4 separate regions of the Homo sapiens genome follow, and regions 1, 2 and 4 are each linked to region 3. The links are contacts of gene promoters, found by promoter capture Hi-C in blood cells and fetal thymus (Javierre and others, 2016). All regions are on one chromosome and are shown on one strand. The core of a region is centred on a gene start or on the middle of the fragment in contact, and the rest is flanking DNA. Distances in the headings are between cores, read along the strand shown. Region 1 overlaps SUGT1 (SGT1 assembly cochaperone of MIS12 kinetochore complex). Region 2 overlaps SUGT1 (SGT1 assembly cochaperone of MIS12 kinetochore complex). Region 3 holds the start of PCDH8 (protocadherin 8). Region 4 has its middle 19 kb from the start of HNRNPA1L2.

Region 1 (6,559 bases), core at 3,340-5,839, 190 kb after region 3:
GCCTACTATTCACATACCAAAACTGGGATAAGCAAGTTTGAGAATAAGCCTTATCACCCAGACCTCTCCTTTTTTAATTTGTAGCTTCCATTTGCATAATCAGTGCTAAAATCCTTTTTTCTGAATAGGTACACAACAGAAAGGCAAACATTCAAAACAGTACAGAGTAAGAATGTAACATAAAATACTAAGAGTGAAGTTTCTTAATTTCAGCACTACTGACATTTTGGACCATATACTTCTTTGTTAGGCAGAACTGTCCTGGGCATTATAGAATATTTAGTAGCACCCCTGGTTTATACTCATTAGATGTCAGTAGCACAACCCCCATCCACCATTCATGATTATCAAAAATCTCTTCAGACATTGCATAAAGTTTCCTGGGAAGCAAAACCGTTTCCAGTTAAGAACCACTTCTTTAGAGAACTGTGATAAAACTCTATCATAACATAAAGATAAAATGATAATACAAGTAGGATTATGTAGTCTCCAATTTTCTGAAATTACTCACAACCTCTTAGTATTTTTCAGATTTAAAAATTCTTGGCTCTCGGCTGGGTGCAGTGGCTCATGCCTGTAATCCCAGCACTTTGGGAGGCCGAGGAGGGTGGATCACAAGGTCAGGAGATTGAGACCATCCTGGCTAACATGGTGAAACCCCATCTCTACTAAAAATACAAAAAAATTGGCCGGGCGTGGTGGTGGTCGCCTGTAGTCCCAGCTACTCGGGGGGCTGAGGCAGAAGAATGGCGTGAACCCGGGAGGCAGAGCTTGCAGTGAGTCGAGATCGCGCCACTGCACTCCAGCCTGGGCGACAGAGTGAGACTCCGTCTCAAAAAAAAAAAAAAAAAAAAAAAAAAAAAAAATATATATATATATATATATATATATTCTTGACTCTCACAATTTCTATATGTCTAGATATCCACACCACTGTGATACTTTTCATATATTCCCTCAAGAATATAACATTAAAAGTCACAATACTCTCAAAACTGTGTTTCTTCTGTACCCTCTCATAATTTACCCAAACGTACACTTCACTTCTCCATAAAAACCTTTAATGTTAAGATTTCACATCTCAGCAATCTGAATAATTTAAAATGAACAGACTTCTGACCAAGGCAAATTAAACTTTCACTTCTCCATTAGAAAAAAACAAAGCCAGACTAAACAGAGAGAGCATGTTAGGTGTTTCCATAGTTTTTTTTACTTCTAATGGTGAAGTTCATCTATGATTTAAATGCCAAAAGGCTAATTTAATCGATTTTAAGTGATCTCATATCTGCAATCAATATGAAATATAATTTAGATGAGAAAAACAGGTATTGGGTTTCTACAATTAACTTGAAATTAACATTACCAAAATTCAGCTTTGGTATTTAAGACAGAAATAGATAAGTTTATTAAAGTATAATTTTTAATACTTACTATCTAATTTTTGTCCTTCTGTAAAAGTTTCTAGGGCAGCAGCATAGTTTTTTTCATGGTATTCACATATTCTGCATGAATATATTTAAAACAAATTAAGACACACAAAAAATCTGGAAAATACCTTCTTTCTAAATAAAAAACTTAGTATTTTCTACTGTTGAAAGAAAAAATTTATTTTAAGTGTATGTTAATAAACCTAGAGACTTTCTAATATACTGTTAAGATCTAGTACAATTCCTACTAAAATTCAATTTTAGAACTCACTTCAGAAGGAATCTGACTTTAATTGTACAGACTTGCTTACTCAAAAATATAATTATACAAAGGAATTAAAGAAGTTTCTTAAAGAATAGTTATACTTATCAACAGAAACAAGATGGGATATAAAGTATACAGATATAGCGCTTTCATAGCATTAAATGTAGCCTATTCAGCTTTGCTGAATAGGATGTTGTCCAGTCAATTAAATATAGTAAATTCCAAAAGATTGAAAAAAAAAAAAAAAAAAGCAATGTGAAATCTATCAGTTTCATCTATACCTTGCAAATACTTCAATCATCACTATTTTAAAATTTACTAAGTACAGATCTCCTATCACATACTTTGGTTAACAAAATAATAGAACTATAAGTTGTATTTAAAATTGAATCATATCTCTGCTATATAATGTATAAATACAGAATTTTACAACTTATATAAAGCTTGCAATGAACTCATTCAACAAATTAAATACCTACTATCTATACCAAGCTCAACAAGAAGAGTAGCTACTGCATACCCTTTTCTCAGCATAGCAGTGGAATTATTTGGATTGAGTTCTAGAGACTTCTTTGCATCAGCAACAGCAACTGTGTAGAAAAAGACGGGTTTTTAGTCAGTTATTTATAGATCCTAGCAAATACACACAACATATGAATCAGTTTTAGATTTCTAAGTTTTCAAGTTGGTAGAAATGCCAAATGGTTTTAAATTAGGAAAAGCTAATACAAGATAGAATTCAAATAAATATTACTCTTGTACCTTCCTTTTGGCTTAACATTTAGCTTCCTTCTTAAAGCTCTTCAATGAATACAGCTGTGTCACAAAATTCACCTCCTTGTCTCATTAACATTTTCTATGTAATTTTACTCAAGGTATTCAGTTTTTCCCTATTCAGAAGGTACAAAATACAGAAATACATTACTTTTTAAATACAGGTGGTCTTGTTATGTTGCCCAGGCTGGTCTTGAACTCCTGGGCTCAAATGATCCTCCTGCTTTGGTCTCCCAAAGTGTTGGGATTACAGGCGTGAGCCACCATGCCTGGCCACATTCTTTTTTATAAAAAAAATTTAAACGAGCATTTCATTTTAATAGTCTGTCAAATAGTAAATGTGATGCTATTTTTTATCAGCATACCCAATAACTATGAATGAAATCTGTATACATTCTCCACCCAATGAAGGAAAAAGCGACATCCATAAAATTTAAATGGGTGTTGCTCAACATGTCTGTCACATTTGAGCTACTTTACCTTGTATAAAAGACCAATTTAAAAATTCTCAAAGACAACTTTTAATTTGTCATGGGTAAAATGTATAAGTAACTTATTAAAAGGGGGCAATATACTTTATAAGAAACGTTACCACAGTAATTCCCAAGAAGAATGTGACAATAAGCTCTTTGACAATAATACTGTGCATCATCTGGTTTCTGTTCCAAAGCCTTAGTCAGCTCCTACAAAAACAAACATGTGGAGCGTCAGTAAAAGTTTGTAAGAAGCCATCAAATTCTAATTAAAACATAATTTTTAATCAAGTAACTTATTGTCAGAAGCTATTTGGAGGAAAGATAACACGGATATAATATTGGAGTTTTTCCTTATAAAAGGATCAATATCTCCCCCACTTCTCTTGCCCCTCCTCCCAAAAGTAGGCAATCTAATGTAGCATCTCTGTACCGTAAAGCTTTTAGTTCCTGGTCTATAGAACTTAATAAATGATCATTATTATCAGCTCATATATTCTGAAGAGTTTAATTGTTACACATTGACCATTACAGATTTCCTCCTACTAATTTGAAGAAGATTCAAACACCATATAGAATTTGAGATTCCTAGAAAATGTTAAGCTGTGCAATAAAAAAAGACCAGAAGTTAAATCTAGCACTCAGGGAGGTTAAGACAATCAATACATACACAATCAAGTGTACCTGGCCCTCTCCTAGCCTCTAACAATAGCACACAACTCTAATAAAACCCAACTAAATATTCTGTTCAAAGCCCAGATACAATCTAATAGATGGCTATGTCAACTACCAAGAGTTAACATTAGAGATTGAAACTTTTTTAACTTGTGCAGTCACAACATATAGGTGTGGTAGCTGGAAAAATAATGATGTAAGAGATTACACAATTAGGGAGATCAAAGACAAGTGCAGGAACACTTTTATTTTCTGCCAACTGCCTACAAACTCTAGGGATTTGGTAGTTTTCTTAAATGGTAAAATTATTTCAAGAGCCACATGTATCATTGACTTTGCTTTAACCTAGTAGTGTGACTCTCAGAAAGCAACATATACAGATGCTCCTCAACTCACATGGGGTTACAGTCAATCAACAGAAAGTAAGGCTCAAATCAAGAGAGCAAAGAAGCTGTAAGATGCTACTTTAAGGGCCTCACTTTGTAGCTTGCAGGCAGTTATAAGGAATTTGGACCTTACGTTTGATGGAAAGCCATGGAAAGTTCACTGTTAGTAAGGGGAACATGGTCCAATTTACTTTTTTTTAATGTCATTCTGGCTGCAGTATGGTAAATACATTATCAAATCAAGACTGGAAACGGAGACTTCTTAGGAAACTATTACATTAAGTCTAGGCTAGAAAAGGATGTTAGCCACAGAGGTGATGAAAAGAAATACGATTAAGTTGGAACATATTAGAAGCAGAGAGACTTGCTAATGGGTGAACATGTGGGATAAGAGAAACTGAAGATGACTCCAGGGTGTTGGGCTTGCCTAGATCTGTATGTGACATCCAGTAATCACTCAATGAAAAGTATTGATTTTTCTTCTTGCAGACTTTTTTCAGCCTTTTCCCCAGTCTCTACTTTGACTGCATCTCCTTTGCCATAGAATACAAAAATATTTGCCTCTCTAGTCTTAATCTTCTCAAAGTCACTAATAACCCCTTATAAAATCCAACTGATTCCTATCTGACTTGATCTCTCTGTGGCCCTTGACAATAATAACCAGGCCTTTCAGCTTACCATTCTGCTGCCTCTTAAAAACTAATGTTCTCCTTGGGCTCAGTACTTAAGACTTCTTCCCCTCTACAAACATTCTTTGATTCCTTAACTACTGGGGGGCTTCACATATGTGTTGATGCATGCTGATGACTCAAGTCTATCTTGAGCCTAGACAGTGGTCCTGGGCAACATCAGCATATAGTTTTCTCTAAACTTTACCTGAAATGTCCCAGAGGCAACTCATATACAAATATTCACAATCTAAAACTACTTTCTATCCTCAAACCTATTCCCCCATGCTGAAGGCAATCTTCTAAGTGCTATCATCCTAAGTGCTATCTAAATGAATGGCACCAGTTCCTACAACATTCCCCCAGCCAGAAACTCAGGAGACATCCCTTATATTCTAATCGTCACCAAGTCCGGTGCATTTTACATAAAACAACTCACCTCCATGCCCTCAATCACTGCCCTACATGCAAATATTCATCTTTGACCCGGTCTGCACTACCATCTTCCTGCTATCCACTATCCCTTGTGCCTCCTCCAATTCGCTATCTACTCTGCTTTTAAAGTAGGTTTTGTAATTCAGAAAATTTCATTTTCCTTCCTCCAAATTCTTGACGGATCTCCATAATCATATGATAAAACTGAAAACCCTGTGCTGGGATTTAATGCCTTTGATGGCCTGGCCTCACTGTCGCCTGGGCTGGAGTGCAATGGCGCGATCTCAGCTCACTGTAACCTCCACCTCCAGGGTTCAAGTGATTCTCCTGCCTCAGCCTCGCAGGTAGCTGATTACGGCTGCCCACCACCATGCCCGGCTAATTTTTTGTATTTTTAATAGAGACGGGGTTTCACCATGTTGGCCAGGCTGGTCTCGAATTCCTGACCTCGTGATCCGCCTGCCTCGGCCTCCCAGAGTGCTGGGACTATAGGCGTGAGCCACCGCGCCCGGCTGCACTTCTAATGAATTGCCAGGTGATGCTGATAATGCTGGTCCAAGAGCCATACATTAAAAACCAAGGTACTAATACTAGCCACATGACTATCCTAGGCAATTCTTCTCCTAGGTACATACAACCAAAAGAAATGCATGTGTTCACCAAAATACATGTACAAGAGTATTCACAGAAGCTTTTTGTTAGCTAATAACTAGAAATAACCCAGATGTCCACTGTTAGAATAAATTGCGCCGTACTTACGGCTATACAACATATATTTATACAATGGAATATTACACAGCAATGCGAAAGAACTACTACTTCACACAATATGAATGTATACTTATGTAATCATTAAAGCAAAAAGAGTGTCTACATTCAATAAAGCACCTACTGTATGATTCTGTTTATGAGTCAAGAACAAACAAAACTAACTGATGGTGATGGAGGTCAAAGCAGGAGTCAGCAGGACAGTAAGAAGAATTACTGGCTGAGAAGGCGCATTAAGGAGCATTATGAATGGAGATACTCTGTATCTTAATCTGGTGGTGTAAACATGTGAAAACTCATCAAACTATAGACTTAAAATCTGTGTTATTTACATAAATCATATATGCCTCCATAAAAATTTTTAAAGTAAAAGAAGATGGAAAGTGACAATAAAATTCATTATGTTAATACTGTTTAAAAGCAACTTTTATATAAACTGGATTCCCAAAGGAAGCACTAGGTCTAACACGACAATAACAAATGTAAATTAAAAGTCATAGCTGTCTAGCTAATACAAGAAATTATGGAGAAAAATTCTCAGTGCTTCCTGTAACATTATCCCCAAACTCATCCCAGAAGCCTTACTCCCAGTATCTAAAGGTCTATATATTTAGGTGTAAAAAACACACCTGGACCCTAAAAGGCCTTATAGGACCTGGCTCCTAGTTTCCTGTCCAACCTCTCTTAA
Region 2 (6,237 bases), core at 420-2,919, 150 kb after region 3:
AGAGTACTGACATTTTAATTGAGATCTCATAGAATGAATGGAAGAAAATAAGGGCATTCTGTGCAGTGATAAGACCATGAGCAAATCCATCCAATTCTGGGAGCCTGTTCTCTATGTACCAGGTGCTACACATACAAAGATGGAAGCTAGACCGCGCCCTCAAGAAACTCAGTCACACGGGGGAAGAAATGAACCAACTGTAATGTACTGGTCTGACAAACAAGGAATAGATTAGCACTCTCAAGCATGCTCATGACATGTTGTGGTTTTGGTATGACTCCATCAAAGGATCCAGTGATGTCTCAACCATAAGCAAATAACCCAATCCAATGCCACAAAAGTCAGTAACAGAGTTGCAAAAGATTAGACTGCTTTCCTGGAGGTAGCATACAAACTCAGTTTTGACACATCAGTAGGAAACTGGAGATGCCCAGGAGGGGCAGAAAAAGGAATGAAAATACACGACATATTCAGAAACAGCAGATGTCTGAACACTAAAAACAAAGAATATGCAATAGACTGTAAGTGCCCTTTGCAGAAAAAGTTTGACCATGACTAGAAGATTCTTGTGTGTCTGGGAGCTTTAGTACACAGCAAAGCAGTGACAAGAGATGTGGCCAAAAATTTTGGCTGGGGTTGAATTCTGAAAACTCTTGAATAGCAGGTAAATGCCAGACTCACCCTCCTTTGAAGAATTTCAACACTAAACAGGACTGAGGGGAAAAAATAAATCAAGGACTTTACATTTAAGTAGCATTTATTGGTAACATAATTTGAGTCAGGACTTAGTTATTAAATCCTCACAATCCTGAGGGTTAATTATCATCCAGTGTTATAAAAAAGAAAAAAGTTCAGATAAGTCACTTGCCCTCAAAACACACAATTATGAAAGTATCAGAACTGGGATTTTAAGAGTCTAGATTCATAAGTTACTACTCCTTCCATTACAAAACAACACCTGTCTCTGTGGTGAAGTATAATTTTTTAAAGTCAATTGTTTTGAAATAGCAAAATAATAACAATAATAAAGGAAATGCACTCAATTTCTTAAGCATGTTTCATCCCCCACTGGATATATATCCTCAGCCTAAGCTCATTACTTATGAATGTGTTCACTTTCAGTCACTTCAAGCCACAGAAAAAGTTTAGAAAACAGATAATCAGTAAAAAGTGGTAGTTGTGAGAACTCCCAGCTGACAGTGAGCCCATATTAATGTCTACACACTTGTATATGCTCCACACTGATTCATTTGGGGCAAGAATAATAAGATTGATGAATTAACTCATAAAAACATCTACCAGCAGGCTGGGCATGGTGGCTCACGCCTGTAATCCCAGCACTTTGGGAGGCCGAGGCGGGCGGGTCACAAGATCAGGAGATGAGACCATCCTGGCTAACACGGTGAAACTCTTGTCTCTACTAAAAATACAAAAAATTAGCCGGGCATGGTGGCGGACGCCTGTAGTCCCAGCTACTTGGGAGGCTGAGGCATGAGAATGGCGTGAACCGGGAGGCGGAGCTTGCAGTGAGCCAAAATGGCGCCACTGCACTCCAGCCTGGGCGACAGAGCAAGACTCCGTCTCAAAAACAAAAACAAAAACAAACACAAACAAATATCAGCTTCTTTTCACTGATGGGAATAACAAGACAATCTGTGGTTTATAAACTGCGTGATTTTGTACCTTGTATTTTTCACAAATCCTAATAGTTTTACCTTCTGTTTTGAGCTTTGAAATTGAAATGAAAACCAGAGAACTTCCGAAAGTTCCTTAACATTCTACATCTAGTTTATATTTTCTGCCACTATTTTATTTTACGATTCTTTATAAAGTGCTGACAATACTTACATAATTAAGCTCTGTTTAAGTAAAATTATTAAAAACTTTTCATGAATTCTTATGCTCTCCAAAGTACAAATTTTATAAATTACAGTAACAATTGTTAACTAGGTGATATACTTTCCTCAGACAGAATTCCACATCTTGAAAGACTGAACTTACAACACAAAAAAATCTTCTCTAGGATTTCCACCTTCCAGCCTAGGATCATCTGATGTTATCTGTCACATGAAGCACTGCTCTTTGCACTTCACACACATAGATACACAATTCCAAAACCCTCAGATGAGTTTTTGAAGTCAGAATTTTGGATTTTAGAAGATAATGCAATACAGATAGACTATTAATAGTTCCCCTTTATCCATGGTTTTGCTTTCCACAATTTCAGTGACCCACAGTCAACTGCTGTCCAAAAATAACTGTTCACATAAGTTTTATTGCGGTATATTGTATATTCTATTATTAATATCTTACTGTGCCTAATTTATAAACTTTATCATAAGTATACATGTATAAAAAATGTACATACAGCATTCAGTACTGGGGGTCTTGGAATGTATCTGCCACAGTTAAGGGGCAACTGCTGTATTTTGTAACAATTTCAGCAGGATCAGTGCTAGCATTCTATAATTAAACATTTAATATTTCTGCTGCAAAATGTGACTATTCATATTATAAATTCAGGTCACGTTTTATATCACTTGTCATACAGATGCACATGCACACACACACACACACACAAAACATTAGTATTTTGAGCCTTCTGGATTAAGATACCTGTGGAGTTACATGAATTCATTCAACTAAGACCATGAGGCATGAGGGGGATCCTATTATCTCCTTTACATAGACACAAAAACTGAGGCACAGAGACATTAAGCACCTATATCCATTGTCACACAGCTAGTAAGCAATGTAGCCAGGATGATCCCAAACAGGATGGCTTCAGAGTCCATGCATTTAACCACTATGCAATACTGTCTTTTCATGTACTTAACAAAAGCTCTAAATATATATTAATAGTATGCGCAATTGTTTATTATTTAGATCTTCTGTGGCTGCATTATAGGGTACAGTTTTTTAAAAAACCCTATATAGGTATTAAGGACCATTTTCCTAACTCCTTCTAAAGAAACTGAAAATTACCTTTAGGTAAATAGCAGTGTTTCTGAAACATCTTTTTGTATAACTGAATCCTTTAATCATAGGAAAAAATAAAGTCAATGATATAGGTAGAAGTCTCAATGTAAAAATAAAACTAAAAATCCAAATGTGAAGGCATACCAAATATTTAAGACTCCAGACAAGCCAAAATTCAAATATATATATATATACAAAATGCTAACATAAGTTAGGAAAAAGGAAATAACCTGAAATATTCAAATTTTATTGGAGAAATCAGTGATACACAAATCCTAACATGTCTGTAGGAATAAAACCTTGAAACAATCTCAGCATTTGTACAACGGAACTGGTATGAGAGCTCCCAAGTTAAAGGAAAAAAAGAATTTCATTGGCATCATGTACCAGTCTTCTTACACATGCAACAGTTGTTAAAAGTACACTGTTTCTCTGTAATGATCTAGATTTGAGAAAAACAGCACCCTCTCAAAAATCAGACTACTTCTTTGCATTACTTCCAGTATGAGGCAAAAGATTTGGATTCCTAATAAGCTTTCCTACTTAAGAAAGTGAGGATCTCTAGGAATTTATCTTCCCAGCTCCTATATAAGAATTAGTTCTTGGCTGGGCACAGTGGCTCACGCCTATAATCCCAGCATTTTGGGAGGCCAAGGTGGGCGGATCATGAGGTCAGGAGTTCAAGACCAGCCTGACCAACATGGTGAAACCTCGTCTCTACTAAAAATACAAAAATTAGCTGGGCATGGCGGCCCATGCCTGTAATCCCAGCTACTCAGGAGGCTGAGGCAGAAGAATTACTTGAACCTGGGAGGTGGAGGTTGCAGTGAGCCAAGATTGCACCACTGCATTCCTTCCCTGAACGACAGAGTGAGACTGTCTCAAAAAAAAAAAAAAAAAGAATTAGTTCTTTAACTTGAATATTCTCTGCTTCATTTCCAGTCAGCTGATTTGGTAATAAAAATCATTCATTCCACATCTAGCTTATTAACCTGATGAGAGGATTGCAGTTGTCAGAAGTATGGGTAATGGAGTCTGATAGGCCTGGGTTCAAATCCCAGCTATTGCAATTACTTACTAGTAGAGTGACCTGGGCAAAGAACTTTACTTTGGCCCCATCATCTTTCTGATTTGCAATAATGGGATGCTATTGAAGGGCGATTAAAAATGAGATAATGCCACCCAATCCATAAGAAATGCTAGTACACAGTAACTACCACTATTTGCAGTAATGAGTCAGCATTCATTGTATATGATTTTAGCTGATTTGGAGGAGCAACTTTACTAAGGTAGGAAGTGAGGCTAAGAGTTAAATTAATCTCAGAAACCAATCACAAGGATGGCTCCAAATAGTAACATTTGTAGGTAAATCAATATTTTCCCCACAAGTTCCCAAAATAAAATCTCTTGGTGTGTGTAAAATGATCTTACGATTTAAAAAATGCACAGATGGAGAAAGGGAAACCACATCAAAAGAGATGAACCCTTTTATTTAAAACTACATATGACCCTTCCCTGCACAGAAACCAGTATTTTGTCCTTTTAGCTTTTATCATCTAATTCCTCTAGGCAGAAATAACTTAAATCCATACTGTCATATGGTTACAGTAGCAGGTATGAGCAAAAGATGTACTTCTTTAGAGCTAGTTACAAAGGGTAAGTGGCTCTAGTAACTAACAAAAACACACACCACCTAGAAACCGTCTACCTTTTTTTGGAAATGTCAGTAAAGCTACAAGTTCAGAGAGATGCACACCAATCTGAACAGGAAAGATTCCAAGGGAATTTAAGTGCATTAGGCTGATTAGATGGTAAACTAATATGCAATTTTGCTCTGGGTCAGTGATATATCTCAGATATCAATAATCTAATCTGATATGTAGATAACTGAGGAAGGAATAGAGAAAGGTAAAGTGGGAAAGAAGAGCCAAAAAATATTTAAGTACTGAACTAAATTAAAATTTCTATCTAAATTATTCATAATAGCATTGTGATGTATCTCCATTTTAAATATTTACTTGAAGTTCATAACTGGGCATGGTGGCTCACTCCTGTAATCCCAGCACTTTGGGTAGGCTGAGGCAGGTAGATAACTTGAGCCCAGAAGTTCAAGACCAGCCTGGGCACATGGTGAAACCCGGTTCTACAAAAAAAATACAAAAATTAGCCAGTCGTGGTGATGCATGCCTGTGGTCCCAGCTACTTGGGAGGCTGAGATGGGAGAATCATTTGAGCCTGAAAGATTAAGGCTACAGTGAGCCAAGAATGAAAATGTGGGCCAGGCACAGTGACTCACACCTGTAATCCCAGCACTTTGGGAAGCCGAGGAAAGAGGATTACTTGAGCCTAGGAGTTGGAGGCTACAGTGAGCCATGATCGCACCACTGCACTCCAGCCTAGGTGATAGAAGAAGACCGTGTCTCTAAACAAATTTTTAAAAAAGGAATAAAAATGTTTTTAAAAACTAGAGTTATTAATGCAAGCCATCCTCTTTCTCCATTCCATTTCACTCCCTATAGACAGAAAACAGATTGGCCAGTAAGTGCCAGTGCTAAAGGCTGAGCTTGTTAGTTGGCAGTCAACTCTGAATGGGTATTAAGACATAAGACAGGAAATTATCAAAATTGACCTTGATGTTTCAAACTTGTGGTATAGATATCTAAAGAGATTACTAGATAGCAGAGTTCAAAAAGCAGATTATTCTATTCAAGATTCTTTGAAGACAGTGGGAGAATTCTGGATTCATCAAGGTGCAAATTATTATGGAAATCAGAAGAGATGAAGTCTACAAGACCAAGAAAAACATGTATTCCAGGACTAACCTTAAAAGGGAAAGGAAACATTTAAGAGGAAAAATACATACATTCTGAAGAAACAAAAGGCTACTAATACTAACAGCACTGAGAACCAAAATTTGAGAAATGAAAATTGGAGTCTAGAAACAAAGAGGGAACAATTAATAGCTACATTGAGATAGCAGAGGATAAGGATAGAGTTAAGAGGCTCTTAATCAGAAAGAAGTTTTTTGTTTTAACTTTCTGGAGGCTTACAAGCTTCCATTATCTAGAATGATTAAACAAAGCAGTACTTTAGAGTGGGATTCTTAGGCAGCAATCTAGCCTACTTTTCAAAATTCCCTTGACCTATAATGAATCTAATGTATTTGACAAGGTATGTTTTATAATGCTTTCAGTCATGTGTTTTACAAACTCCCTTCAGACCAGCAAAATCCCAAATCCCACAACACTTAGCAAATCT
Region 3 (6,842 bases), core at 2,581-5,080:
TTACTATACAGTTTAAAAGTCACCATGCCTATACTGACAGCCCAACAAATACACACACAGAGAGAGATAACTTTAAAAAAAAAGAAAAAAAAAGAATTTGGAGTGTAGAAAACAGCTTGGTTGCATTTCTAGTGCACCAACCCCAGAAAACCCAGAGGCTTCAGAATTTGATGAGATTTTTGCAAAGTGTGTTTTCACTACAAAAATGAATTAGATGCCCCGAAGAGCTTCCTCTGTTCTTTGCTTGGCCAAGCACTTGCTGCAAACTTCCCTGAGGGGTTTACCCAATGGTGAGCCTGTAGGAGGAAAAACCAGGGCCCTGGGCTTATTTTTAAAGGAAAAAAAAAAGTAAAAGTTTAAAAAATAACCCCTCTTCATCCATCCTTAGAATTACACTTTCCAGTGAAGTCTAGTACCCTTTCCTGGTAGATATAATCCTAATTAAAAATAAATTACATGCTGTATAGAACTTGAAATGGACAAGATAATCCTATTACATATGAGAATATATCCTGATTTTCTTTCCCGCTAAACTGTGGGAGATATCAGATCAGTCTGAGCCCCCCATTGTCGCCTCTTTGAAAACTTTCCTGGAGCCCTAATCCATCACGTGACGCCCATGTCAATCTTGGTGTTTGCACGCGAGTTTCACAATGCCGGCATTAGGCTCGGTAACAGAAACCCAGCTTTGCGGAGCCCGCAACATTTGCATTCCGAGAAAACGCCGGCCATTGTGGAGCTGTGTTTGTTCTCAAGATTGCGAGACAGTTGCCGGCGAAGTTGCTAAAACCGAGAGAAAGGGGCTCCTTTGGGCCTGCCCAGACCTTTTGGTATGATAACAAGGCGATTCGAGCGGCTTTTGTGAGGCCTGATCAGCACCCGGGCGGGCGAGCTCCCCTCCCTTTCCCCTACTCCTCTCCAGCGCCACCTCCCCGGACATATTTTCCTTCCCGGGGAGTTGCTGCGGACGTTGATGTGCTATTTTAAATCGTATTTCCATAATCGAGTGGCTGTCCGCTGCCGGCCCGGAGCTCACGGTGTTCGCGTGCCTTCACACCTCCACCGCCGGCACGGAAAGACCTGTGCGCGCCGGTGGCGGCTGGAGGCTCGCGGCTCCCTTCCCGGGCTCCCCGGCTCCCAGCTCTCAGCCTCCCGGCGCCGCCGCCGTCGTGGCTACTTCCGATCGACGAGGGCCTGGCCGCGGAAAAAACACTTTAGACCTGCTACCAGCCACCCTACACCCCTCCTCCCGCCTCCTGGCTTTTGCCTGCCCCTACTCCCCTTTCCTTTTCCCACTTTCAAGCACGCCTTGGTTTATTTCAGCCTTGAGAATGAGCATGCTGACGCGGAAGCACTTTGAGTAGAAATTGCAAGTAGTTCCGAATCTCTGGCCAAGCGAAAAACCCAAACTTAGCGCGTGGCGGGGCTCCCGAGTCCAGCCCAGAACTGCGGGGTGCAGATGCGCAGGGGGCGCTGGCGCGAGGTCCGGGTCCCAGCCATTCGCGGCCGGGCTGTGCTCGCGGAAACCGCTGAAATCCCTTCCTTTGGGACTCCGGCCCCATTTCCACCCACTTTCCCCACCTTCCGGGTCCTCCGCCCGGCAGCAGCAGCGCCAGGCGGGCCTGACCTTGCCCTGGGTACGCCAGCGGAAGCGCTGAGGCCGCTGTCCACCAGCCAAGTTCTGAACCTGTTCCCGTCTGGGTCTCCGGGGGAAGAGGGGTGAGGAGAGATGACGTTAGCCTAGGGGCGCTAAAGGTCACCAGCCAGCCCCAGGTTGGGGTGGGAGTGTTGCGGGGCTCGGAAGGAAAATAGAAAGTTCCTTCGACTGCGTGTACCCCCCAAGGAATATCTCTTGGGCGGGGACGGTGGGAGGGCTACATACTAAATCGCACTTGGGAGATGGAAGACAGCGGAAGAAAGGGCTGCGATTTGGGCTCCTGTAGGGGGCGCTCCTCCTTCCACGTCCCCACGCGGCTGCAGATGCCTGGCCTTATTGCTTTTAGCATTCCCAAGACTACAAGGTGGAAGAGGTGGAGAAGGGAACCCAGAGACACACCCCTCTGAGGAAGTCTCCAGCCACTCATCATCCCCCTCCCCAGTCTTATAAGAGCTTGTATTTATGGATGGCTGGAGCTGCATGTTCCGCTCTCTGACAATTCCAAGCACCTCTCATCCCTGCCACCCAGCTCCCTGCTTGGTCTCCCTACTCCAAGGAAACTCCTGACCCTCTTCTGAAAAAAAACCCAAAACACACTCCCTCGAGTTTGAGGGAAAGGAAAACATGGATAGGACGCTGACAGCAGGACCAAAATCGGGATTCTGAAGAATGTTTACTGAATTCAATCTACTTACCAAACCTATCGCCTAAAAAGAAAAATTTCTTCCAGTGAGTGGCTTTTGTTTTTTACCTTTCCTCCTTCGTGTGTATTTGCATAGCCTGCTCAATAAAGCCCTTCAGTAAGAATCATTAAGAATCCGTCTTGTTGCAGATCCGAGCTCCATCTCCCTGGCCGTCAGGGATGGGAGGGGGCTATCTGTGGGGCAGCGCAGCGCCCGGCCAGCCCCAGGATCCGCCCAGCCCAGATTTTGGCAGTGCCGAAGCTCCACACTTTCCTAAGCAGATGGTTAAGTTCCCCCCACGTTCCTGCCAGGTTTCAACGTCACGCTGTGATTTTGTTCTTCTGGAACCGGACGAGTGTTGCTTCCCAGAGTGGCCCTATTAGAACAGAAAGAAAATCCTCTAAATAGGCGGAACAAGGCATCAGGAGGAAAAAGTTCTCTAAATGCACTTTAATACGAGCCGGGTATTGTGTGGAATTCAGCGCCCATCACCGTTTAGCCGGAGAGTTATGGCAGTGATTGGGGATGAATAGAGGAACATAATGGATACATGTGGCGTTTGCTCATTATATTCAAGTTAGTCCAACTCCGCTGTGGAAACTGTTCAACTTTCTCTCCCCTTAGCTTGTCACAGTGAAATAATACAGACATTGGGGCCTCCAATGGGATCGCCTGCCACACCATTCTATTTCCACTGCTAACGAGGGCTTCATAAGCCTTTGATACAGTCTGATCTTTGAAACCTTTCCAAATCTCCTCAAGCTTATGCTAAATCCTATTTGGAACTTTTTTTTCCTTGCCTGCTAGCTCCCAGGGCTTAAGAAGGCCACTTGGACAGTGACGTGCATACTAACATATCGCGGGGCTCTTTTCTGAAAGGGAAGTGGCAGCTCTGATCACTGGGGCTCACACGAGCAAAACACAATTGAGTACACAAATTTGAATAAAATCAATTTTCCCTTATCCTTCAGGCTTCTTAATCGAGAGGCTATTCCAGGCACCGTAGCTAGGAGAGAAGGAAAGCAGAGCCTCATTCAGCAGAGCAAGTCTGTGGGTAGGGGGCTGCAAGGGTTTGGAAGCGTCAGAGGTGCAAAATGCAGAGTGTGTGTGTTGGCAGGGGCTGGGGGAAGGCGGAATCAGGAGCCACTGGGGTGAAACCCCAGCGTGTTCGCACTTAGTTCTAGCCGCGGCACGGAGGGAGGCAGGCGACAATTAACAAAACCATCCGCTCCTTTTACTCCTGGAGCCCTGTGCCAACTCCTCTACATGCAGGGTGCTGACAAGAAAAGGGGGAAAAAGCAAAAGGAGTTAAACAAAAGAAAGATTCCCTAATTTTCCTTTCTTGTTTTCCCCTCTAAGCCTTTCCACATTAAAGGGATTGTCAGAGGCAGGCGGAGGGGCGACGCGAGGGGGAGGCGGCCATTGGCTACCCGGCTCGGGTGATTAGCATATCGGCGGCTATAAAGGCAAAGGCGGCGCGAGGCGGCGCAGCTTCTGTAAGAGACGGAGAGGCGCAGAGTGAGGGCGGGTCCGCGCGTCCTCAGAGCCCGCTGGAGGCTCGGAGCTGCTACCCGCAGACTTCTCCCGCACAGGGCTCGCAAAGAGCGTGATTCCGAGAGCCTGAGACTGACGCCCGACCTGGAAACCAGAGAAGACTTCCTTAGCCTTTCGGATCGCACTTGAGGCTGGAGGCATGAGTCCTGTGAGGCGTTGGGGCAGCCCCTGCCTTTTCCCCTTGCAGCTCTTCAGCCTCTGCTGGGTGCTCTCAGTGGCCCAGAGCAAAACAGTCCGATACAGCACCTTCGAGGAGGATGCCCCCGGCACGGTCATCGGGACCCTGGCCGAGGACCTGCATATGAAAGTATCGGGTGACACAAGCTTCCGCCTGATGAAGCAATTCAACAGCTCTCTGCTCCGGGTGCGCGAAGGCGACGGGCAGCTGACCGTCGGGGACGCCGGCCTGGACCGCGAGCGGCTGTGTGGCCAGGCCCCGCAGTGCGTGCTGGCCTTCGATGTGGTCAGCTTCTCGCAGGAGCAGTTCCGGCTGGTGCACGTGGAGGTAGAGGTGAGGGACGTCAACGACCACGCGCCGCGCTTCCCCAGGGCCCAGATCCCGGTAGAGGTGTCCGAGGGTGCGGCAGTGGGCACGCGCATCCCCTTGGAGGTGCCGGTGGACGAGGACGTGGGCGCCAACGGGCTGCAGACCGTGCGCCTGGCCGAGCCGCACAGCCCCTTTCGCGTGGAGCTGCAGACGCGAGCGGACGGCGCTCAGTGCGCAGACCTGGTGCTGCTGCAGGAGCTGGACCGCGAGAGCCAGGCCGCCTACAGCCTGGAGCTGGTGGCCCAGGACGGCGGCCGCCCGCCGCGCTCCGCCACGGCTGCCCTCAGCGTGCGCGTCCTGGATGCGAATGACCACAGCCCGGCCTTCCCGCAGGGCGCCGTGGCCGAAGTGGAGCTGGCGGAAGACGCGCCCGTGGGCTCCCTGCTTCTCGACCTGGACGCAGCCGACCCCGACGAGGGACCTAACGGCGACGTGGTGTTCGCATTTGGCGCCCGCACCCCGCCGGAGGCGCGCCGCCTCTTTCGGCTTGACCCGCGATCAGGCCGCCTCACCCTGGCCGGGCCCGTGGACTACGAGCGTCAGGACACCTACGAGCTGGACGTGCGGGCGCAGGACCGCGGACCCGGGCCCCGCGCTGCCACCTGCAAGGTCATCGTGCGCATCCGAGACGTCAATGACAACGCACCCGACATCGCCATCACCCCGCTGGCCGCCCCAGGCGCGCCGGCAACCTCACCCTTCGCCGCTGCCGCCGCCGCCGCTGCACTCGGGGGAGCGGACGCTAGCTCGCCGGCGGGAGCCGGGACGCCGGAGGCTGGTGCCACTTCGCTGGTGCCGGAGGGGGCGGCGCGCGAGAGCCTGGTGGCCCTGGTCAGCACCTCGGACAGGGACTCGGGCGCCAACGGGCAAGTGCGCTGCGCCCTCTATGGGCACGAGCACTTCCGGCTGCAGCCGGCCTACGCGGGCAGCTACCTGGTGGTGACCGCGGCGTCGCTGGACCGCGAACGCATCGCCGAGTACAACTTGACGCTGGTGGCCGAGGATCGCGGCGCGCCCCCGCTGCGCACAGTGCGGCCCTACACGGTGCGTGTGGGCGACGAGAACGACAACGCGCCGCTCTTCACGCGGCCGGTCTATGAGGTGTCGGTGCGCGAGAACAACCCGCCAGGCGCCTACCTGGCCACGGTGGCCGCCCGCGACCGGGACCTGGGCCGCAACGGCCAGGTCACCTACCGGCTGCTGGAGGCCGAGGTGGGCCGCGCCGGGGGCGCCGTGTCCACTTATGTCTCGGTGGACCCAGCTACCGGAGCCATCTACGCGCTGCGCAGCTTCGACTATGAGACGCTGCGCCAACTCGACGTTCGCATCCAAGCTAGCGACGGCGGCTCCCCTCAGCTTTCCAGCAGCGCCCTAGTGCAAGTGCGCGTGCTGGACCAGAACGACCATGCGCCAGTCCTGGTGCACCCGGCGCCAGCCAATGGCTCCCTAGAAGTGGCGGTGCCTGGGCGCACCGCAAAGGACACGGTTGTGGCCCGTGTGCAGGCCCGGGATGCAGACGAGGGAGCCAACGGGGAGCTGGCGTTCGAGCTGCAGCAGCAGGAGCCGCGCGAAGCCTTCGCCATCGGCCGCCGCACGGGGGAGATACTGCTCACCGGCGACCTCTCGCAGGAGCCACCCGGTCGCGTGTTCAGGGCGCTCCTGGTCATATCCGACGGCGGCCGTCCCCCGCTCACCACCACCGCAACTGTCAGCTTCGTGGTAACAGCAGGGGGCGGGCGTGGGCCGGCTGCGCCTGCCAGTGCAGGAAGCCCGGAGCGTTCCCGCCCGCCTGGCTCTCGGCTCGGGGTGTCCGGGTCGGTGCTGCAATGGGACACGCCGCTGATCGTCATCATCGTGCTGGCCGGGAGCTGCACGCTGCTGCTGGCCGCCATCATCGCCATCGCCACCACCTGCAACCGCCGCAAGAAGGAGGTGCGCAAAGGGGGGGCCCTCCGGGAAGAGCGGCCCGGGGCGGCGGGCGGCGGAGCCTCGGCTCCCGGCTCCCCGGAGGAGGCCGCCCGGGGAGCCGGGCCCAGGCCCAACATGTTCGACGTGCTCACCTTCCCTGGCACCGGCAAAGCGCCCTTTGGCAGCCCCGCGGCGGACGCGCCTCCGCCTGCGGTCGCCGCGGCCGAAGTGCCGGGCTCAGAGGGCGGCAGCGCCACTGGGGAAAGCGCCTGTCACTTCGAGGGGCAGCAGCGGCTCCGCGGCGCGCACGCCGAGGTGAGGCCTTCCTTCGGCTGGGCGCCCCCCTCCGAGCTCCGCGGACAGGCTGGGGGAAGGGAGACTGGAGGGGTAGGGTGGGTGCATTCAGGTAGACAACCTGTCGCACTTGTTTTTTGTTTGTTTCTTATCCAACCCTCCCCCCACTCCCATTCCCCTATTCCCTGCTGCAGCCCTA
Region 4 (6,792 bases), core at 1,634-4,133, 220 kb after region 3:
AGAACAGGCAAAACTAATCTGAGGTGAAAAAACAATCAAGACAACAATTGCCTCAGGACAGAAGGCTACTAACTGGGAAGGTGAAAATGGGAAACACAGTGTCTTGGTTAAGTGTGTGGGTCACATGGGCTTATCCATTTGTCAAAATCCTCCAGCTAAGATTTGTACACTTTAATGTATGTAAATTTTACCTGAAAAAAAAAAGCCATCAATCATTATCAAGTAGGAGATGAAAACTGGGTGAAGGTATATATAATACAAGAATAGTAAAATGTTGATCATTGTTGAAGCTGGGTGACAGTATAAAGGGGTTCACTGTACCATTTTGCGTACTTTGCGTATATTTTAAATTTTTCATAAGAAAAAGCTTTTAAAAGCTTCCTAAATAAATTAGAGCAAGTTAATATAAAAACATCCTATTATGAAAAGAAAGTAAACTGTATACAACATTGTTTCCTTTTTTTTTTTTTTTTTTAAGAGATGGGATCTCAGTATGTCGTGAAGTCTGGCCTCGAAGTCCTGGGTTCAAGCAATCCTCCCACATCATCTTCCTGAGTAGCTTGGACTACAGGCATCTGTCACCATACCTGGCTATTTGCGACATTTTTAAACTCACTGAGAACTGCCATCTCAATAAGTGGGACCCAAATTAATATTTTATTATGCCTGGCTTTCTGTATTATGATCTATTACCTAATATTCAAATTAAAGCTCCCAAATTCCTAAAGTTCTTGGAGAAAGATTTTAAGGACTTAATTGAGATATATATGGAAGATCTAAAATCTGATAGGAATGGAAGAAAAATAGAAGAATGAAAAAAGGGGTTCAGCATGGTGGCTCATGCCTGTAATTCCAGCACTCTGGGAGGCCAAGGAGGGAGGATCGCTTGAGCTCAAGAGTTCAAGACCAGCCTGGGCAAGATGGCAAAACCCCATCTCCACAAAAAGAAAAAAAAAAATTAGCCAGGAGTGGTGGCACATGCCTACAGTCCCAGCTACTTGAGAGGTTGAGTGGAAGGATCACTTGAGCCTGGGAGGTTGAGGCTGCAGTGAGTGATGATTGTTCCACCACACTCCAGAATGGGCCACAGAGCAACACCCTGTCTCAAAAAAAGAAAAAGAAAAAAGGAAATATAATAGTTAAAATGAAATGTACTTTCAGAACTGTTATCTGTGAATAAAGCTTTAACCGTATTCCACATCATTGTTATTTCTTTCATAAACCACTTGTAAACTTCATTTTCAAATTTTAATATATGTATTTGATCAGAGTAGGCACAGAACATAGGTGAATATTCATTTTTCAGAATCATGCATTTCATAACAATAATTTCCTTCATAGTTATAGTCTCTGGCTTTATAATTTATAAAGTTCTAATTAATAAAAATTGTAGGGAGCCTGTGTCATTGAACAAGATAATTTTTACATACAAGGATCTTTCTTCATAGATTTTAACAATGTAATGAGAACTTGTTAAAGTATCTTTCAGGGCTTCGTGGTGGCTCATGGCAGTAATCCCAGCACTTTAGGAGGCCGAGGCAGGTGGATCACCTGAGGTCAGGAGTTCGAGGCCAGCCTGGTCAACATGGTGAAACCCCATCTCTACTAAAACCAAAAAAATTAGCCAGGCATTGTGGAGTGCACCTGTAATCCCAGCTACTCAGGAGGCTGAGGAAGGAGAATCGCTTCAACCTAGAAGGCGGAGGTTGCAGTAAGCCGAGATCACACCACTGCACTCCAGCCTGGGCAAAAAACAGCAAGACTCCATCTCAAAAAAAAAAAAAGTATCTTTTAACAATCTATTCAATCCTGTAATTAAAACTATTTCATGAATACATACTTTTCCCCTTCATAACTTTTTTTTTTATTTTGAGATAGGGTCTCACTCTGTTGCCCATGCTGGAGTGCACTGGCACAATCTCGGCTCACTGCATTGTCCACCTCCCGGGTTCAAGGGATTCTCCCACCTCAGCCTCCCGAGTAACTGCGATTACAGTCCCATGCCACCACACCCGGCTAATTTTTGTATTTTTGTGATAGACACAGGGTTTCACCATGTCGATCAGGTAGGTCTCAGCTCCTAACCTCAAGTGATCTGCCCACCTTGGCCTCCCAAAGTGCTGGGATTACAGGCATGAGCCACTGCTCCAGGCCCCTCGAGAATACTTTTAAATCATCTCTAGATTACTTGTAATACCTAATATAACAAATGCTACATAAGTAGTTGTTATACTGTATTTTTTAATTGGTATTTTTTTCTGTGTTTCTTAAAAAACGTTATCAGAAGTTATCTGTGGATGCAGAACCTACGCATACAGAGGGCCAAATGTATATTACTCCATTCCTATCAATGACATTATCCTTGTTAAGACGGTGTCTCAGAAGTGGTTGTGGTAAAAACAAATATCCTAGGAAAATCAATGTGGAAGAGGGTAAACATGGTAATGTCCAATCTTATTACAAGGCTAGGTCATTAAAAAGAAAATACAACTGGCCAGGCACGGTGGCGTGCCTGTAATCCCAGCACTTGGGGAGGCCGAGGAGGGTGGATCACAAAGTCAGGAGTTCAAGACCAGCCTGGCCAACATGGTGAAACCCCATCTCTACTAAAAATACAAAAATTTGCCAGGCATGGTGGCAGGCACCTGTAATCCCAGCTACTCGGGAGGCTGAGGCAGAGAACTGCTTGAACCCAGGAGGTGGAGATAGCAGTGAGCCAAGACCGCGCCACTGCACTCCAGCCTGGGTGACAGAGCGAGACTCCATCTCAAAAACAAAACAAAACAAAACAAAATACAACTTCCTCTTGGCTCACTTTCTCTTGAGACACCCACCCTGGAACCCAGCCACCATGCGGTGAGAAAGCCCAGGCCACAAAGAAAGCCACATGTAGGTGTTTCTGCTAACACCCTCAGCTAAGGTCTCAGCTGACAGCTGGCATCAACTGCCAGACCTATGAGTGGGCAAACTTCAGATGATTCCAGCCTCAGATTTCTAAGTCTTCCAACTGAGGACCCAGACATCATAGAGCACAGACTGGCCTTCCCCGCTGTGTTCCAGCCAAACTGCTAACCCACAGAATCTGTGAGCATAATGAGTGAATGTTTTATGCCACTAAGTTTGGGAGGTAGTGTAACTATGGTAACCATATCAATGGGGATTTAATATATAATACAAAGAAAGAAAAGCAGGCTATGCATGAAGCTATGATGACAGTGCCTCATGAAGCAAAGATCATGACTCATCTAATCCCATGCATCCTGGAAGTCCTTGAAAAGCGGGGAGGGGAGGCAAAAATCATTAAAAGACACCTTTTAAAAACTCAAAACAGATGCACCTTGTTCACCAGTCTTTTGATGTAGGACCAAAGCCTCTTTTTTAAACACAGGACCACTGATAAAAGGTTCTAAGGCATATATTTTACATACATCACACCCATCCTGCAATATTTTCAATTTTGGTTTAAGTGGAAAAGTGGAGCAAGAATGTGAGATAGCTTACAAAGCAATCTAAGGGTATGATGCTCCTGCGTATGTATATTTGTCTCACTCATGCCTAATTGGAAAGAAATTGTTTACGTGACCTTTACTGACTCTTTCCAAAGCATTCAACTCACTTTACCATTTCTGTAATAGTTAATTAAATTAAAATAAAGGGCATGAGGGGTCATAAACAGGTCTGGTAGCCTTAAAAATGCCATTCTTGATATGTATTTATATGTTTGTGTTATTTACTTCCACATACTTATATGTAACTGTTTTGTTTCTAAAGAGTAGGACGAGGAGGAAGTACCTATTATGGGTACTGATTGTCTGAATTAGCTTACTCTACCACCCAATTATACTTTCCAGAGGTATTTTTGATACCATGTAGAAACCAAGAAGTTCCATTAAAATGTTAAATCATTCTGGAAAACAGAAGCCTATATTATCTGTTTGTTCTGATAAGGGAAGTCAGTGATGGGTATCCTAAAGCCACACACCTTACTACTTGAATTAATGACATCCCTGAAATACATCATTATGTATCATTAAAAAAAAAAACTGCCATTTAACCTACAACACAATGCCAAGATATTACTGATTGCACTTAGAATTAAATACTCTTTTGACAAGCACAAGTAATTACAATGCTCTGAGGAAGCCAGGAAAGCTGAAAGCACGGATAGTTATTGGTCACAGGAAGTCATACAGAGCAGTTGTAATCAACGTGCTAAACTTTATTCCAGAAAAAATTTTTTAAATGGAAAATTTCAAATAAGTGAGTCCTTTACAGACATGAAGCTACCTTCAAATCAAGATGTAAATGATATTGTTAATTAACAGCTTAAAGAGGCAGTTAAGTAGCAGTTAATAACACCAATAAGTATGTAAGAGTGTAGAATTCTCAATGAGATCACTTCTCTCTTCCTTTCACTGGATTGTGTACAGATATCCTCTTGTTATTTAAATATAATACAATTACAGCATTTCTCAAGTAATTATTAGACTCCCTGTGTTTATTAGCTGATATTTTTTTCTTCATTAATTCAATATCTCCCAAGTACTTGTACTAAAAACATTTTTTGCAAAAAGAAAAAGCTTACTGGAATTTTAAAAATTACTTTCAAACAACATTCAAATTACAATTAAATTTACCTCTTCTTTGGAGCATGTCCTAAAGCTCTTTGAGGCCCGCCAGTTGTAGCTTTTAAGTGAACTTCTGTTGGGTGGCTTTGTTGTTTGTACATTTACTGTGCTCAATTCAACTTTCGTGCCCTTAATAATGTCTAACAAGTCTTTTTCTCTGTTTTCCTTTACACTGTCTTGGTTGTCTGAAGTCTCCTTGGAAGTCTCAACAGTTCACACTGCTCAACTTTCTTGCTACAGATAGCGCCGTTAGTGCCAAAATATCTTTGGATATTATTTTTTGTCCTGGAAAGATGCATTAAAGAAAAAAAATGAAAAATACAATGCAGGCTAATAAAGCAAAAAACCGTGTATCTAAATTTTTTTTCAATTCAAGCCCTTTCCATTTGCTTTTTATAATTATTAACAACCATAGCAGCAGCAACTTACCATTTATTAGCACATACTATATGCCTCAACCTCGTGCAATATGTTTTATGCACATTTCTCATACCCACATTAACTCCCTAAGGTCTCCATTTTGCAGATAAGGAAACTGAAAATCAGAGAAGTAACTTACCTAAGGTCATGCACCTCACAGCCCATTAAGGCCTAAGACACACTGGGGTGCCACAAATAAGTAGAGGTATGCTGAGATATTGATCACCTGCTCCTTGGGGTGGCCAGGGGAGGCCTGGGGGTGCTGGTGCTCCCAAATCTGTTCCTTCCCACCATTTACCCCAGAGTTCGGTAGAAAAACTCTGACATGGTTAATAAATGACAATTTATTATTCTCAAACCCAGATCTGACTGACTGCAAGTCCTTGATCTTAACATAACACCTCTTTAAAAAGTTATAATTAAATAATACAAAAATAAATTTCTATCAAAAAGATTACTTTAAAAAAAACTGAGTGGGTCTTGTTTTAATCTGATCAACATTCTCATCAAGCTACATGCCACTTAACCCATAACCACTTGTAAGCTAAGCTAAAATGGAACAGAAAAGAAAATAATCGATGGCTATAAATGTCATTTTTGCTTTCCTCATTAGATACATTTATGAAAGAGAACACCACAAATGATTACATCTATACTAGACTCATGCAAAAGATGTCCTAATTCTAAGTAACTCAAATATCCAGTTTTATTCTGTGGAGTTAAAAACCTCTTTTGGCACTTGATTACTAAAGAACTTTAAAAACTCTTTGAATGTGTTAGTTTCAGTAAGAGGGTATAATATATTTAAAAATCATTCATTAAATATAGTGAATATCTACTCTGTGCTGGGCACTATACTAGGTACTGACAATATATTAGTAAATAAGAATTTCATAGTCCCTACTTATATGAAGCTGATGTGCTACAGCACTGCTTCTCACACTTTAATATATATAGAAATTATTTTTTTTTTTTTGAGACAGGGTCTCGCTCTGTCACACAGGCTGGAGTGCAGTGGCGTGATCTTGGCTCACTGCAGCCTCGACTTCCCCAGGCTCCGGCGATCCTCCCACCTCAGCCTCCTGAGTAGTTGGGACTAATTTTTTGTAGAAATGGGTTTCCCATGTTGCACAGGAACTCCTGGGATCTGCCCACTTAGAACTCCCACCACCCACCTAGGCTTCCCTAAGTGCTGGGATTACATGCCTGGGCCACTGTGCCTGGCCCACAGAAAGTATCTATGCTCCTTGCTAAAATACAGATTCTTTGGTCCCACCAAACTACTCTGATTCAGTAGCTGTTTCCAGGAGACACTTGAGAATTTGCATTTCTAACAAGCTCCCAGGTGTTGCTAATTCTGCTGATCAGGGGACCACATTACAGTAGCTATGTTACCTATGTTACTTAATCCTTACAATCTTAAAGGATAGGTTTTATTATTCTCGTTTTACAGAACAAACTGCTGCCCACAGACGTTAGGTCAGTGGTTATGAATCTCTAGAGGTTATACAAATCACATAGGCAGCTGACTTAAAACACAGATTCCTAAGATTCTTAGTTTGTAAGTTTGGAATGGGGTTCAGGAATCAGCATGTTAAATAAGACCCAGGTGCTTCTGATGCAGGTGAGCTCAAGAGCCTGTATCAGACCTTAGGTTAAATACTATATCAAGTTCTCAAAGCCAGAAAATAGTAGCCACAGGCTAAGGACACTTGCATGAAAGAGAAAACGGCAATTTCAAAAA

What was found. Contacts are between HindIII fragments. The CHiCAGO score rates a contact against its expected background, and 5 or more counts as called.
Region 1: a contact is called between a fragment that was not itself captured here and the fragment with the promoter of PCDH8 in region 3, in 2 of 17 cell types (endothelial precursors and M0 macrophages). The highest score is 5.6, in endothelial precursors.
Region 2: a fragment that was not itself captured here is called in contact with the fragment with the promoter of PCDH8 in region 3 in 1 of 17 cell types (M2 macrophages); the score reaches 5.4 in M2 macrophages.
Region 4: a fragment that was not itself captured here is called in contact with the fragment with the promoter of PCDH8 in region 3 in 1 of 17 cell types (erythroblasts); the score reaches 5.3 in erythroblasts.

Annotation. Positions count from the first base shown.
Region 1 is chr13:52,654,122-52,660,680 of GRCh38, reverse strand. SUGT1 (SGT1 assembly cochaperone of MIS12 kinetochore complex) reads right to left here. Exons shown (of 13, transcript NM_006704.5): 3 at 3,059-3,149; 4 at 2,213-2,282; 5 at 1,432-1,502. Among named protein-coding and RNA genes, the nearest start is that of SUGT1, 4.6 kb to the right of the region's middle. The HindIII fragment of the contact is 2,415 bases long and covers 3,382-5,796 here.
Region 2 is chr13:52,690,055-52,696,291 of GRCh38, reverse strand. It overlaps SUGT1 (SGT1 assembly cochaperone of MIS12 kinetochore complex), which reads right to left. Exons shown (of 13, transcript NM_006704.5): 13 at 1-6,237. Among named protein-coding and RNA genes, the nearest start is that of SUGT1, 40 kb to the right of the region's middle. The HindIII fragment of the contact is 3,693 bases long and covers 1-3,515 here.
Region 3 is chr13:52,845,628-52,852,469 of GRCh38, reverse strand. PCDH8 (protocadherin 8) reads left to right here and starts at 3,830. Exons shown (of 3, transcript NM_002590.4): 1 at 3,830-6,664; 2 at 6,838-6,842. The coding sequence starts at 4,034. RefSeq lists enhancers at 918-1,127, 1,802-2,096, 3,442-3,736, 3,867-4,756, 4,757-5,645. The HindIII fragment of the contact is 1,116 bases long and covers 3,105-4,220 here.
Region 4 is chr13:52,620,110-52,626,901 of GRCh38, reverse strand. It overlaps a transcript of HNRNPA1L2 not described here. Among named protein-coding and RNA genes, the nearest start is that of HNRNPA1L2, 19 kb to the left of the region's middle. The HindIII fragment of the contact is 3,398 bases long and covers 1,185-4,582 here.